Linked DNA regions of Homo sapiens: all the other regions are linked to region 3. The links are contacts of gene promoters, found by promoter capture Hi-C in blood cells and fetal thymus (Javierre and others, 2016). All regions are on one chromosome and are shown on one strand. The core of a region is centred on a gene start or on the middle of the fragment in contact, and the rest is flanking DNA. Distances in the headings are between cores, read along the strand shown. Region 1 holds the start of AEBP2 (AE binding protein 2). Region 2 holds the start of FGFR1OP2 (FGFR1 oncogene partner 2). Region 3 holds the start of ETNK1 (ethanolamine kinase 1).

What was found. Contacts are between HindIII fragments. The CHiCAGO score rates a contact against its expected background, and 5 or more counts as called.
Region 1: a fragment that was not itself captured here is called in contact with the fragment with the promoter of ETNK1 in region 3 in 2 of 17 cell types (naive CD8 T cells and total CD8 T cells); the score reaches 13.6 in naive CD8 T cells.
Region 2: the fragment with the promoter of FGFR1OP2 here is called in contact with the fragment with the promoter of ETNK1 in region 3 in 1 of 17 cell types (total B cells); the score reaches 5.1 in total B cells.

The regions. Positions count from the first base shown.
Region 1 is chr12:19,437,051-19,440,840 of GRCh38, reverse strand. AEBP2 (AE binding protein 2) reads right to left here and starts at 1,349. Exons shown (of 8, transcript NM_153207.5): 1 at 471-1,349. The coding sequence starts at 1,141. RefSeq lists enhancers at 92-181, 212-261 and silencers at 912-1,011, 1,022-1,171, 1,232-1,481. The HindIII fragment of the contact is 5,437 bases long and covers 1-3,790 here.
Region 2 is chr12:26,936,843-26,940,500 of GRCh38, reverse strand. FGFR1OP2 (FGFR1 oncogene partner 2) reads right to left here and starts at 2,031. Exons shown (of 7, transcript NM_015633.3): 1 at 1,791-2,031. It overlaps INTS13 (integrator complex subunit 13), which reads left to right and starts at 2,520. Exons shown (of 17, transcript NM_018164.3): 1 at 2,520-2,705. RefSeq lists a silencer at 1,598-1,667 and enhancers at 1,197-1,705, 1,928-1,977, 1,706-2,215. The HindIII fragment of the contact is 20,390 bases long and covers 1-3,658 here.
Region 3 is chr12:22,623,232-22,626,929 of GRCh38, reverse strand. It overlaps ETNK1 (ethanolamine kinase 1), which reads right to left and starts at 1,759. Exons shown (of 8, transcript NM_018638.5): 1 at 1,344-1,759. The coding sequence starts at 1,499. It overlaps ETNK1-DT (ETNK1 divergent transcript), which reads left to right and starts at 1,884. Exons shown (of 4, transcript NR_135030.1): 1 at 1,884-2,257. RefSeq lists enhancers at 636-1,325, 1,345-1,514, 2,045-2,114. The HindIII fragment of the contact is 2,136 bases long and covers 1-1,994 here.

The DNA.
Region 1 (3,790 bases), core at 1,081-3,580, 3.2 Mb after region 3:
CTCTCCCATGGACAAGGAAGTTCTGTTAAATCCAGGCGAGACCAGCCATATTGGAAACACTTGTCAATTGTAGTTCTGACAAGTGTTCCCGAACACGGTTGGAAGAAGCTAACCTTGAGTACCGACGTGTGTACATCAAGGCCCTCTTCTGCTCCGCCAGAGGATCTGGGCCCGTTTGGGGACTGTTTCCGAGTTAGAGCCGTCCTGAGGTCCGTGAGGAGCGAAGCGCCGAGGGGAAAGAGGGCGGGGAAAGGAGAGTTGGGGGGGAACGGTTTGAGAGTTGGAAGCCGCGATGCGCTGCGAGAGGGGCGCGGCGGCGACGGCGAGAGATTTCCGAGTTGAGAGTCTGGGGGAGGGGCCGAGGATTCGGGGAGCAGGGGGATCGCGGCAAAACGTCGCCTTGGTCCCCCTCTGAGGGGCCCGGGAGTTCAAGAGGAGGAAGGGAAGGGGAAACGCTTCAGAGCACTGACCTGTCCTCCGAGTCCATGCGGCTCAGGGGTTCCCCATCCGACGACATCTCCAAGCTGCCCCGCCGGCCCCCGGAGGTCGCGCTGCTTCCGCCTCCCCCAGTCCCGTAGCCCTCGTCGCCGCCGCTGGAGACTACGCTGCTGCTACTGCTGCCGCCCCCGCCGCCGCCCTGGCTGCCCCGCGGTCCCTTGGGCTCCTCCAGGCCCTCCTTGCCGTCCCCATCCCCGCTGCTGCTGCTGGCGGCGCCGGGGCTCAACGAGCGGGTCTCGTCGCTGCTGCTCCCGCCGCTGCTGCCCACCAGGCTCTCGGCGCTACTCTCCTCCTCACCCCCGCCGCTGCTGCTGCTCTCATCTTCCTCCTCCTCGTCGTCCTCCTCCTCGTCTTCGTCCTCCCCGGCCTGGCTGGCGCTCTCGGGGCTCGGCTCCGACATCGTCTCTGCCTCGCCGCCCCCCACTCCTCCGCCGCCGCCTCCGCCGCCCCCACCGCTGCCGCCGTTCAGCAGCAGCGCCGCCACCGCCTCGGCCTCCGCCTCCTCTTCCTCCTCCTCCTCTTCCTCCTCCTCCTCGGGGGGCTCAGCCCGGCCCCGCGCCGCCGAACCCGGGCTGCCGGGGGGCAGAGGGCTCAGGCGGGAGAGCTCCTCCAGGTCGGCCATGTCGGTGATAGCGGCGGCCATGGCGGCGCCTGCTCCTCCTCCTCCTCCTCCTCCCCACCGCCGCCTCCCTCTCTCGACTCTCTCTCCCTCGCCCCCCTCCCAAACGCCCAAAACTCCGCCGACGCCGCTGCAGAGCAGGAGGAGGGCCCGCGAGCTGCGTCAGCCTGCACACGCGCTACGGAGCCCGCGCGGGGACAGGCGCGCGACTACGCGCACTCACACGGAGACTGCTGCGCGCCTGCGCGGCGGCACGAGGCAGCACCTCCCCCGGCTGCGGGTTCTGCGCCCCCGCCCCCGCCCGGCGCCCGCCCCGCTGCCCAGTGCCCGCCCCCGCCCCCGCCCCGGCGCCTGCAAGTGCTCAGCGTTTCCTCGGGGCCTTCCCACGCCCTGCCGGGCTTCGAAGCCCAGGGACACGCGGACTGAAAACTCCAACGCTGGCCGGGGATTTTAGCAGCCTTCCGAGTTCTCACGATAAACTCATTCATTCCGGGGGTGTTTGAGGAGTGTCCCCTCTGTACAGGAGCTGAGCCAGGAATAGAACGAGCCTACAGTCTACGAAGAGAGCGGTTTAAAATGGGCAAAAATTAAAACACTACGGTGTAAGGTACTAAATTTTTATGCGCAACACAGGGCGACAGGTTTTAATACACCCTATGTTTGAATACCCCTGGAGATGTTGACATCCTGAACCCAGAGCAAACATCTTGGTTCAGGGTCCTCAAACTTTTTACTTCATGAGCCTTCTAAAACAATTTCGTAAAGCTGTGTATGTTCTTATACAGTTTAGAATGACAGCTACATTTTTCCGGCTTATAAATATTTCATCTGTCGCATTGTTTAAATACTGTATAGCCAATGGATTCTAAATACCATAGGGATTTAACACCCACTAATATCCATTTTTTTAAAATACAGTTTGGAAAATACAATTTCCAAATATTGTTTTCTGGAACTCATATTGACGTTGCATATCTCCTCTAGAATTTTATCCTAGTAATATATTTTATATTTGAACTATTTTGATCGTCTTACTTGTAATAAAAATGTGAACATAAATTGAAGTATCTGGGTTGTTTTTTATATTTTCTGTGATCATAAAGCTCTTATTTCAACCGATCAAAACAAATCTATTTCAAATGTTTGTAAGTACTAAACACAAAAGCAAAATTTTATTGGCAATGCATCTTGCAGAAATGAACTTGGGTGGACTTTTTTCTAATATACATTATGACCTTCAGTGGATGGATTTTTTTGAGAAATAGTTCAGCATCAGTTCTATTCCAAGTTTTCAATTCCATGGATATAAGTGTTGAGAAAACTTGTTCGCATAAAAAAAGCAGATGAGAATGAATGGAGTTTTGTTATAGTAATGCCACACAATTCTTTGAATGCCTTTCGCATTATATGCCCAAAAATCGCATAAAGATCTAACAAAGAAAAAATACTTTTAATGATCTGTCAGCTGACAACTCTGATTAGGTTCTCTTTCAACTTGTTGAAAGCAAGCAACTGAAAACCACCTGACTTGTGAAAGGATGTGTTACCCCATTCTTATTCACCAGTCAATTGTGCCTTTCTTTGGTGTCCTGGAGGTTTTTGCATAACCGGGTATTGCACCTTACTAAGATTTAGCATGAGGAAGAATTATGCCTTTCTTTTGTAAAGTAGGGAAGAGGTCATTGGAAGAAAGGAGACTGGAAAAGAGCCCACATTACACCCTGACCCAAGGACACATTTTCAGGCCAATTTTAGGGATGCTTCTACTCAAGGAAAATGAGGATAGAACTGACTGCCTGAAAACAGAGCCTCCATGCTCATTTCCCATTTGGGAAAGTCGTCATATACCGTGAGTACCCAGTATTACATCCTCTGCCTTAGGCCTTTGGACAACTGTTATATAAAATGTTGCCTCTAAGGGAATGCAAAAATAATAACATGGGACATCATTTACAGATACCTTCAGAGGCACATACAATGTAAGGTATTAACTTCCAACATTTTAAACCTCAAAGGCAATCTTAGATAAGGAATGTATTAAAGTGAAATACACTGTAAACTGTAAATTAAAAACTATCAGAAGGCCGGCAGGGTGGCTTATACCTGTAATCCCAGCACTTTGGGAGGCCAAAGTAGGAGGCTCACTTGAGCCCAGGAGTTTGAGACCAGCCTGGGTAAAATAGCGAGACCCTGTCTCTACGGCACACCTGTAGTCCCAGCTACTCAGGAGGCTGAAGTGGGAGGTTCACTTGAGCCCTGGAGGTTGAGGCTGCAGTGAGCCATGATCATGCCACTGCACTCCATACCTTTCCTCACCCATCATAAGGGTCATGGCCAACACTTCTACAACAAAAGACAGGTTAACAAGAGAAAAGTGTAACAAATTAATTTAATGGAAGTCTTATGTGACACAGGAGCCTTCAGAAGTAAAGACCCAGAGAAAGCTGTCCATTTGTATGCCTAGATTCAACAGAGTGGACATCCATGTAGAAATGTGATTGTACAAAAAGAGAATGAACTAATAGTAATAGACTGAGTGTGGAAACCCAGCAAGGCCTGTCCAGATTCGTCTTGACCTCTCTGTGTAGCATTCCTTCCACACCCAGGTATAGAGCAGACTTCTCTGGAATGAGAGTCTTCAAATGAGAAGGCAGAGAGTGACCTTTCTTCGTT
Region 2 (3,658 bases), core at 782-3,281, 4.3 Mb before region 3:
AATGCAAGAAAGAACGCATATAAATTACATATAAAAATAAGCATTTATAAAGGCACATCGCTGTATGTGAAAGCAAAGAAAATTTTCACTGTCCTTGAAAATAGTGGAATGAATACATGTTTGGAACTGTATAAAGACACTTTCTGAAGAAAATTAATTTTTAAACTTGGAAGAAAGATTTTGGAAGTAATGACACTGGAGGATTTTTTTAAAATTACACGTTCCCTTAGAATTGTGGCTGAATATAAGTTTCACATACATATGTTCAAAGAGTTGTGACAGTTCAAGAAGGAACTAACCTAATCTAAACCAGTTATTTCTAACCTACAGGCTAAGGAGTCAGTAGAAGAGTTGCCTGAATGCACATACTCCAAGCACTGTCTGTAGTCTAAAACATTTCTGCTCCATTTCTCAAATATAAATAGATACTGTAAAAATAAAATACAAAATCATTTAAAAGCATAGTAGTTTTCTGTCATTATACATAATTTCAACCAACAATTACTAAAAGTCCAATTGCATGTGTATTAGAAGTACAGGGTTTCTCATAATCAAAATAGGTCGGGACCTTTAAGCTAATGTACAGAGTTCCTTCTGGCCCAAAATTCTATGATTTTAAAGGATGAAGAACTCTTACGGTGAATTCCTTAGAACTATTCCATTTCAATAAACATACATATGTATATATAAATAATGCTTGCTATGTGCCAAGTACTGGACTTTTTCTCAGAGATGAGTAAGACATGATTCCAGACAGACCCAGGTTCAAATTGGCAGGAGAGACAGAAACAAATAATACAACCTAATAAATACTGCAGAAGAAAAGTTTCAAATGCGTTGGGAGCACAGCGGTATCAATGTCACCTGGGGGAGTCTGAGAAGACAATGATTTATGAATTGGGTTTTGACAGGTGGTAAAATAGAGGAACAGTAAACATCCTAGACATCCGCACGTACAAAAGTACAGAGCTGTCAAAGCGCATGGCATGTTTGGGGAAATAGCCAGTATAGTCTTGTATGGTAGGATATTAAAGCAGGACTAAAAGGTAAAATGGATTGGGGCAGACTGTAAAAGATCCTGAATGATGATGTGCTTAACAATTAGGATTTGATGCTGTCAGCAATACGGTTACTAAAAAGTTTAAGGAAAGGACAGAGATAAATATGTATTTCAGAATAACTCTATGGAAGGATTATAGTAGGGAAACCAGTGGAGGGCGGGGGGCAGAGGGGGCAACCGCACTAATTCTGGCGAAAAAAAAAATAATACAGTGCAGTGTTAAGTGGAAATGAAGAACCAATGATGATTCCTGGTTTTCTAGTTCGGATAGCAGGACAGATACTGGAACCATTATCAGAGATGGGATAGAGAAGAAAGGCAGGAAGAGAACCAGAAAAGAGTAATACCCCTTGGAGAGCAGTTTCAAGAAACAAGTTATCTTCATTAAACGCTGCAAACAGGTGACTGAAAGGGTCCCCCGTCCGGTGGTGAACTCGCAGGTGGGTAAGGCAGGATGAAAGCAGATACGGAAGGTGTGTCCACAGGGTTAGAGCCAAGGCTTTTCATTGAACTTTCCGCACCGCATCTCCATTAAGAGGAGCTCGGAGTCGGGGGGCGCGGAGAGGAAGTCCGGCTCCCAGGAGCAGGGAGCCCGCGGCGGGAAGCGGACAGGGCCGGGCGCCGGTGGTTCAAGAGGCGCAAGGCACCGGCCCCGGCGAAGGACTGCCCCGGCAAAGGACGCCTCCGACTCGCCCACCCCTGCTCCCGTCCCTGGATTTAGTCCACTTACTCTGCTCTTAGTCCCTCGCAGCCTTCAGCTGTGGCGATGCGGACTCAAACCCTCTACCAACCGGGACCTATGCACTCAAGGGAAGAGACTCCGCGCCCCCCTAATCCGCCTCCTCAGCAAGCAGACGCAGAATCGGACGGAGGCAGCGGACGGAAGGCCGGGAAGCCAGTGGCGTTCAACGCCATCACCGGCGGGGTAGACACCTCCGCCGACCGCCTCCGACCGGCGCTCCCGGAGAACTCCAGCCTCGCGAGATTTCTTTCCTCGCGTTACTGTGGGGCAGAACCGACCACTCTCCGCTTTGCCCCAGAAGGCAGGGCGGGGCCCTTCTATGTCCCTCCCTATTCCTCCCTTCCCAGGCTTTCGCTCGGCCTCTCGCAAAGTCTCGCGAGTTTTTCCAGGGGAAACCGGCCTGGGTGGAGAGACAGAGAAGGGGAGACCGGGTGGGTGGGTCGTACGCTTAGGGGGCCGTGGTTGGTACTTCGCTGTTGGGGAGGCTTTCAGGTCGCCCAGATCCTGCTTCCCAATGGGTGACTGGGAAAATTAGCGGGTGGAAAATCTCGAGGGGTGGAGGCTTTTTTTTTCCTCCTTGGCCCCGCCCTCTTCCTGTTCGGCGACTGGGACGCCTGGCCCTACGAGGGGGAAGGGAGGCTTGGCCGGGCTATCGGAGAGCGCTGTGCGCACGCGCGAGCCCGAGTGCGTGTGTGTGTGTGCACGCGCACGCGCGCTCCTGCTCTTAGGAAGCCTGGGAAGGACCGGTGTGCTAGGAGATGATCGGGGAAAGCATAGTCCCCTGTCTGTGGCACCAGACACTCCCGACTGTGCGCTGACTCTCCCCGCCCAGCCAGCAGCCTTTTCCAGAGAGGCTGTGGTCCATAGCCTCTGTTCGTTTTCACTGCAGGACCAGGCACGAAAGTAAGCGAACCTCGATCCTGAGGTCTTCCCTATCCACTCACCTTGTATTTTCCACCCCCCACCCTCCAGCAAAGTGGGTCTAGAAGGTTTCTCAAAGAGAGTTTTGCATGAAGGGGAGATGCGTCTTGAAAGCAAGAGGTGAAAATAGCTGGATCGTAAGAAATCAGTTCGTTTTGATTTAACACTTTGGCTTTGCTTGCCATGTGCTTTTCGAATGTGGATTGTCTATTCAGTATAAGATTTTGTTAGCGAAGCAGGGGAGTACCGTATGCTCTGTTTTAATAAGAAAAAGTTTTAAAAGTTTTAAATTTCCTTCTACACACCAGTGTGATGGTAACAACTAAGTTTTTCTGCTCTACCTGGTAAATTACTGTGATGTTTCAAAAGCTAAGGGGAGAGTGTGAAGTTGGGGTCCTTATCCTAAGGCGAAGACCTGATGTGCGGTTATCTTAGGAGATGTTTATCTTTGTTTTGGCCTTTTCTTTTGCTGTCACTCCTCTTTCCTGTTAATTCCGCACCCCTACCCGCCAGTCCCCCTTCAAACGTTTTTCTTGGAGGGAAGTGCAAAAATGCTGGCTTGGGGTTTATATGTGACTAATGTCAATTAGCAAGGATCATAAAGTTGTATTTCAAGAGTCTTTGTCACTTATGTTTCGTATATGTAAGGGAATCAAATACAATTAAATGTCAAAATGTTTCCCTCTGACAATTTTAAGTTCATTTTAAAAGCAAAACCAAAAATGCATGCACTGGTATTTTTGTCTGGGCCTGGTAGAGTGACAGCCTAATATGGTGTATTGATACCCTTGCTTTCTGGTCATGACCTCATTAAACTGTCCTTTGTCGGACAGATTTCTTTGAACATATTATTCATGTTCCCTACCAAGTCTTCTTGAGGGAAAGACAATCTTCTTGAGAAAATTAGAAAAAATGTAAGATGTTATGTACAAATA
Region 3 (3,698 bases), core at 510-3,009:
ATAATAAAATACAAACAAATTGATAAACTAAACAAGTACTGAATTTCAATTTGGAAGACACATTTCCTTTAAAGGAAATATATTTTTTAAATGACATAAAAATCACTTTGGATTCACTATTTCCTATATTCTCGGCTAACAAATACTCCCTTAAATTTCAAAATTTGTTGTCTAACAAGTTTCTTCTCCAAAACATACGGGTCCTTTAAAATAATCTGCTTAAAAACTCTTCTAGGTAATAAGAACTGAAACTAACACATGAAAACCCAAGTGTCAGGAACTGTTCTGGGCCCTAGGCACTGCTCATGTTTTATTCATCTTTGTGTGGGTGGCTGGCTAGTTTAGCGAAGAATTTAGCAAATAAATCAACAAATATTGGTGAATAAATTAGTCATCAAAACGAGGCAGATGATTTGGCTAATTCAAATGAATGTTCTTACATTATTGCTCAGATTTAGAACAAATCCCAAATATCCCAATCTTGAAAATTACTGTTTTTTTTTGTTTGCAAGGGAAAAGGAGAAAAAGAGATCTATTTTTGTATCTAGTTCCTGAAACTAAAGCTAAAAACAGATTAGTATTCAAAAAAAATCACGTAGTGGAAATCATAACTTCCAACTTATTAGAAAACTCCTAGAGTCTCAGGGATTTTTTTCCTCCCAATTTTTTCTCTATCAACACGGTGTCTCATGAAAAGGAAACAGTCACAAGCCACTGCTCCTTCTAGTATCAGGTATTAATTTCAGTAAGACGACTTTAATAATTCAGAAATATCGACTCAAACAAAACAATGTGTGTGGTGCTGCCTAAGAACCGACCTAGCGATGCATGGTCGTGGTCATTACTTTGGGAATTGAGTACGCTAGGGTTTGGGAAGACAAAACGCAGTGTGAGGCATCAATGAAAGCACATCGCAGGGGGAGGGGAGAGGAAGGAAAGATCAGAGAGGATTAATGACTGCATTACTGGTGGGAGGGGAGGAGGTAGACGAGGACCCCGTGCAAGGGGAGTGGAAAGGTTCATTTTGCAGTGACCGTGGACTGGGGAGTGGGAGGAGGGGCAACTATCAGCAGGAATCTCCCCCCGTGGATGGGTCCGTCACTTACGCAGCGGCTTCTAGAAAGAGAAAATGTGCCTCAGGTCAATCTCAAAGAGCAACTGCGACGGGAAGGGGGAGTGACCCTCCTAGGTGTGAGGGGAAATACAGGGTCACTTCCCAATAGACTTAAGGAGATGTTGCCCTAGGTCCTCCTCGGTCATCGTGGGACAGAGGCGATTGTGGTGAGGACCCCCAGAGCCGCGTGAGGGGCATAAGAGACCCAGAGCTGAGGTGTGGGCGTTACCTGCAGGGTCACCTCCTGGGGGTCCCAGTGAGGCCGCAGGTGTTGCAGGAGGCTCAGGGCCCCCTCCCGGCAGCGATGCTCCTCCTGATCCTGAACGGTGACGTTCAGCTTGGGCACCTCCGGGGAGCCGGGAGGGACGTGGATGTAATTGGCCATGGCCCAGGCGACGGCGGAGACTACCACCACGACGACGGCGACGGCGACCACGAGAACGGCGGGCGCCGACAGACTGGTGGATCCTTCCGTCCCGGGGCGCCCTCGCGGGAGGGCTGGGGGCGCTGGGACGGGCGGGCGAGCGGCAGGAGAACGTCTGGAGGCGGCACTGTTGCCGATCCGGGTCTGGACAGCAGCTGAACTGAGCCCGGCCCGCTCTCGGAGAAAATTCCTGTTGTCGGAGCTGGACCGCGGGCGGCCGCAGAGCATGCCGGGGCTGGCCTGACGCTGGCGTCACGCGCGGGGCGGGTCCTGCGCTGCGTCAGGGTGCCGAGGCGGGGTTTCTCGCCTCCGGTCACAATGGGACCTCTGTACCGCGCTGGGCTTGTTGGCCTGCGATTAGCACACACCCATCCCTGGGAACTGCTAGTCTGGAAAGCGGGGCTGCTTCTCCGGGATGAGCCCGAGCCCTGCCAAGCCCCTCAAGGCATTGAAGCTTTAGCTCACCTTATCCGAATGGTCATTGGGCATCTGGACTTGAGTTAACGACTGAATTTTTCTGGGAAGCAAGGGACACGTTCTAAAATAACCCCAGGATCACTCTCCGAACTTGGCCTGAGTCTAGGCAAGCAGTGTTACTCGGTCGCCTTGATCTTGGAGCTGCTGTGTACTGGGGACCTCATACTAGTTGGGTTAACTATATTCCCATTAGCAGTACGCGGGATCGCAGTACTCGGGACAAGCTGAGTTCAGGTATTTGGGTAAGACAACTGCAACACTTCAGAGGTTATTTGTGGAGTAAGATGTTCGACCATACAGTGAATAATTCGAAGCTAGGGAGAACAGATTAGAGTCTGGTATGAAGAAGAAAGGGAAGGAAAGGAATAGTTTTGAAGCTCAGCGCTAGAACGACTCGATGTCCATGCCAGGGTACCCCGAGTGGGCCTTGAAATCTTGCGTCTCAGTGCCTTACAGGGAATGGTAGAAACTGGAAAATCTACAAGTAAAGTATTGGGACCTCCTAATTTTCCTTTTAGATGGAGGAAAACGGGCTGGGATTCCCTGCAGCACTTAGCACACGGTGAATACGTTTGTTAGTAGTAAATAAAACCCTTAACTGGACTGAGTTTAATTAACATTCAAAATGTTTAATTACTTCACTAGCATTAAGTTTACATCCTGATTGTTCAGAAAGAACCTACTTACCTTTGTAATTAACAAAATAATTACTTCACCGATAACGGTAAACTTCCTAAACTAAAAAGAGGGGTGGAAATGGAGCTTTATAATACAGCAAAGAAGTTGATTTAACATTTTTCAAATTTAGTGGTTTTTTTGTTTGTTTTTTGTTTCTGTTTTTTTTTGTTTTGTTTTTGAGACGGAGCCTCACTCTGTCGCCCAGGCTGGAGTGCAATGGCGCGATCTTGGCCCACTGCAACCTCCGCCTCCCGGGTTTAAGGGATTCTCCTGCTTCAGCCTCTCGAGTAGCTGGGATTACCGGCGCGTGCCACCACGCCCAGCAAATTTTTGTATCTTTAGTAGAGATGGGTTTCACCATGTTGGCCAGGCTGGTCTCGAACTCCTGACCTCAGGTGATCCACCCACCTCGGCCTCGCAAAGTGCTGGGATTACAGGCGTGAGCCACCGCGCCCTGCCAGATTTAGGCATAATTTTCTACAAGAAACATTAGAGTGTGTGTTCCTTCCACTTTGGGGAGAAATCATAAATATACTACTACTTTCACATTTCAGATAGTATCTCTTGTATTTTTGTATAAATTGTATTTTTTATTAAGCAGTTGACATTTTAAGAATTTTAAAACTATGTAACTGTAAAACAATTTAATTGAAAATTATGTTGCAAACTGCACTAGTTTGTAATGGTAAATAAGAGTCCATTAACAAGTAGAAGAAAAGAAAAAAAAACTATTAGGTACCTGAGAACAAAAGTAACCGAAAATGTACAGGATCCATGGATAAAATTAATGGAGAAATGAACCATATTCATAAATGAGAAAAGATTAATGTAAAGGCCTCAATTTTCCCTGAACTAATCAGTACATATAATGCAATTCCAGTTAAAATCTCAAAAGGGTTTTTTTACTGAACTTGTTAAAATGACATTGAAATTCATATCAAAACTTAAGGTCCAAGAAAAGCGCTGTAATTGGGGAGAGGAGGATAGGGACAGGTAAGATCAGGG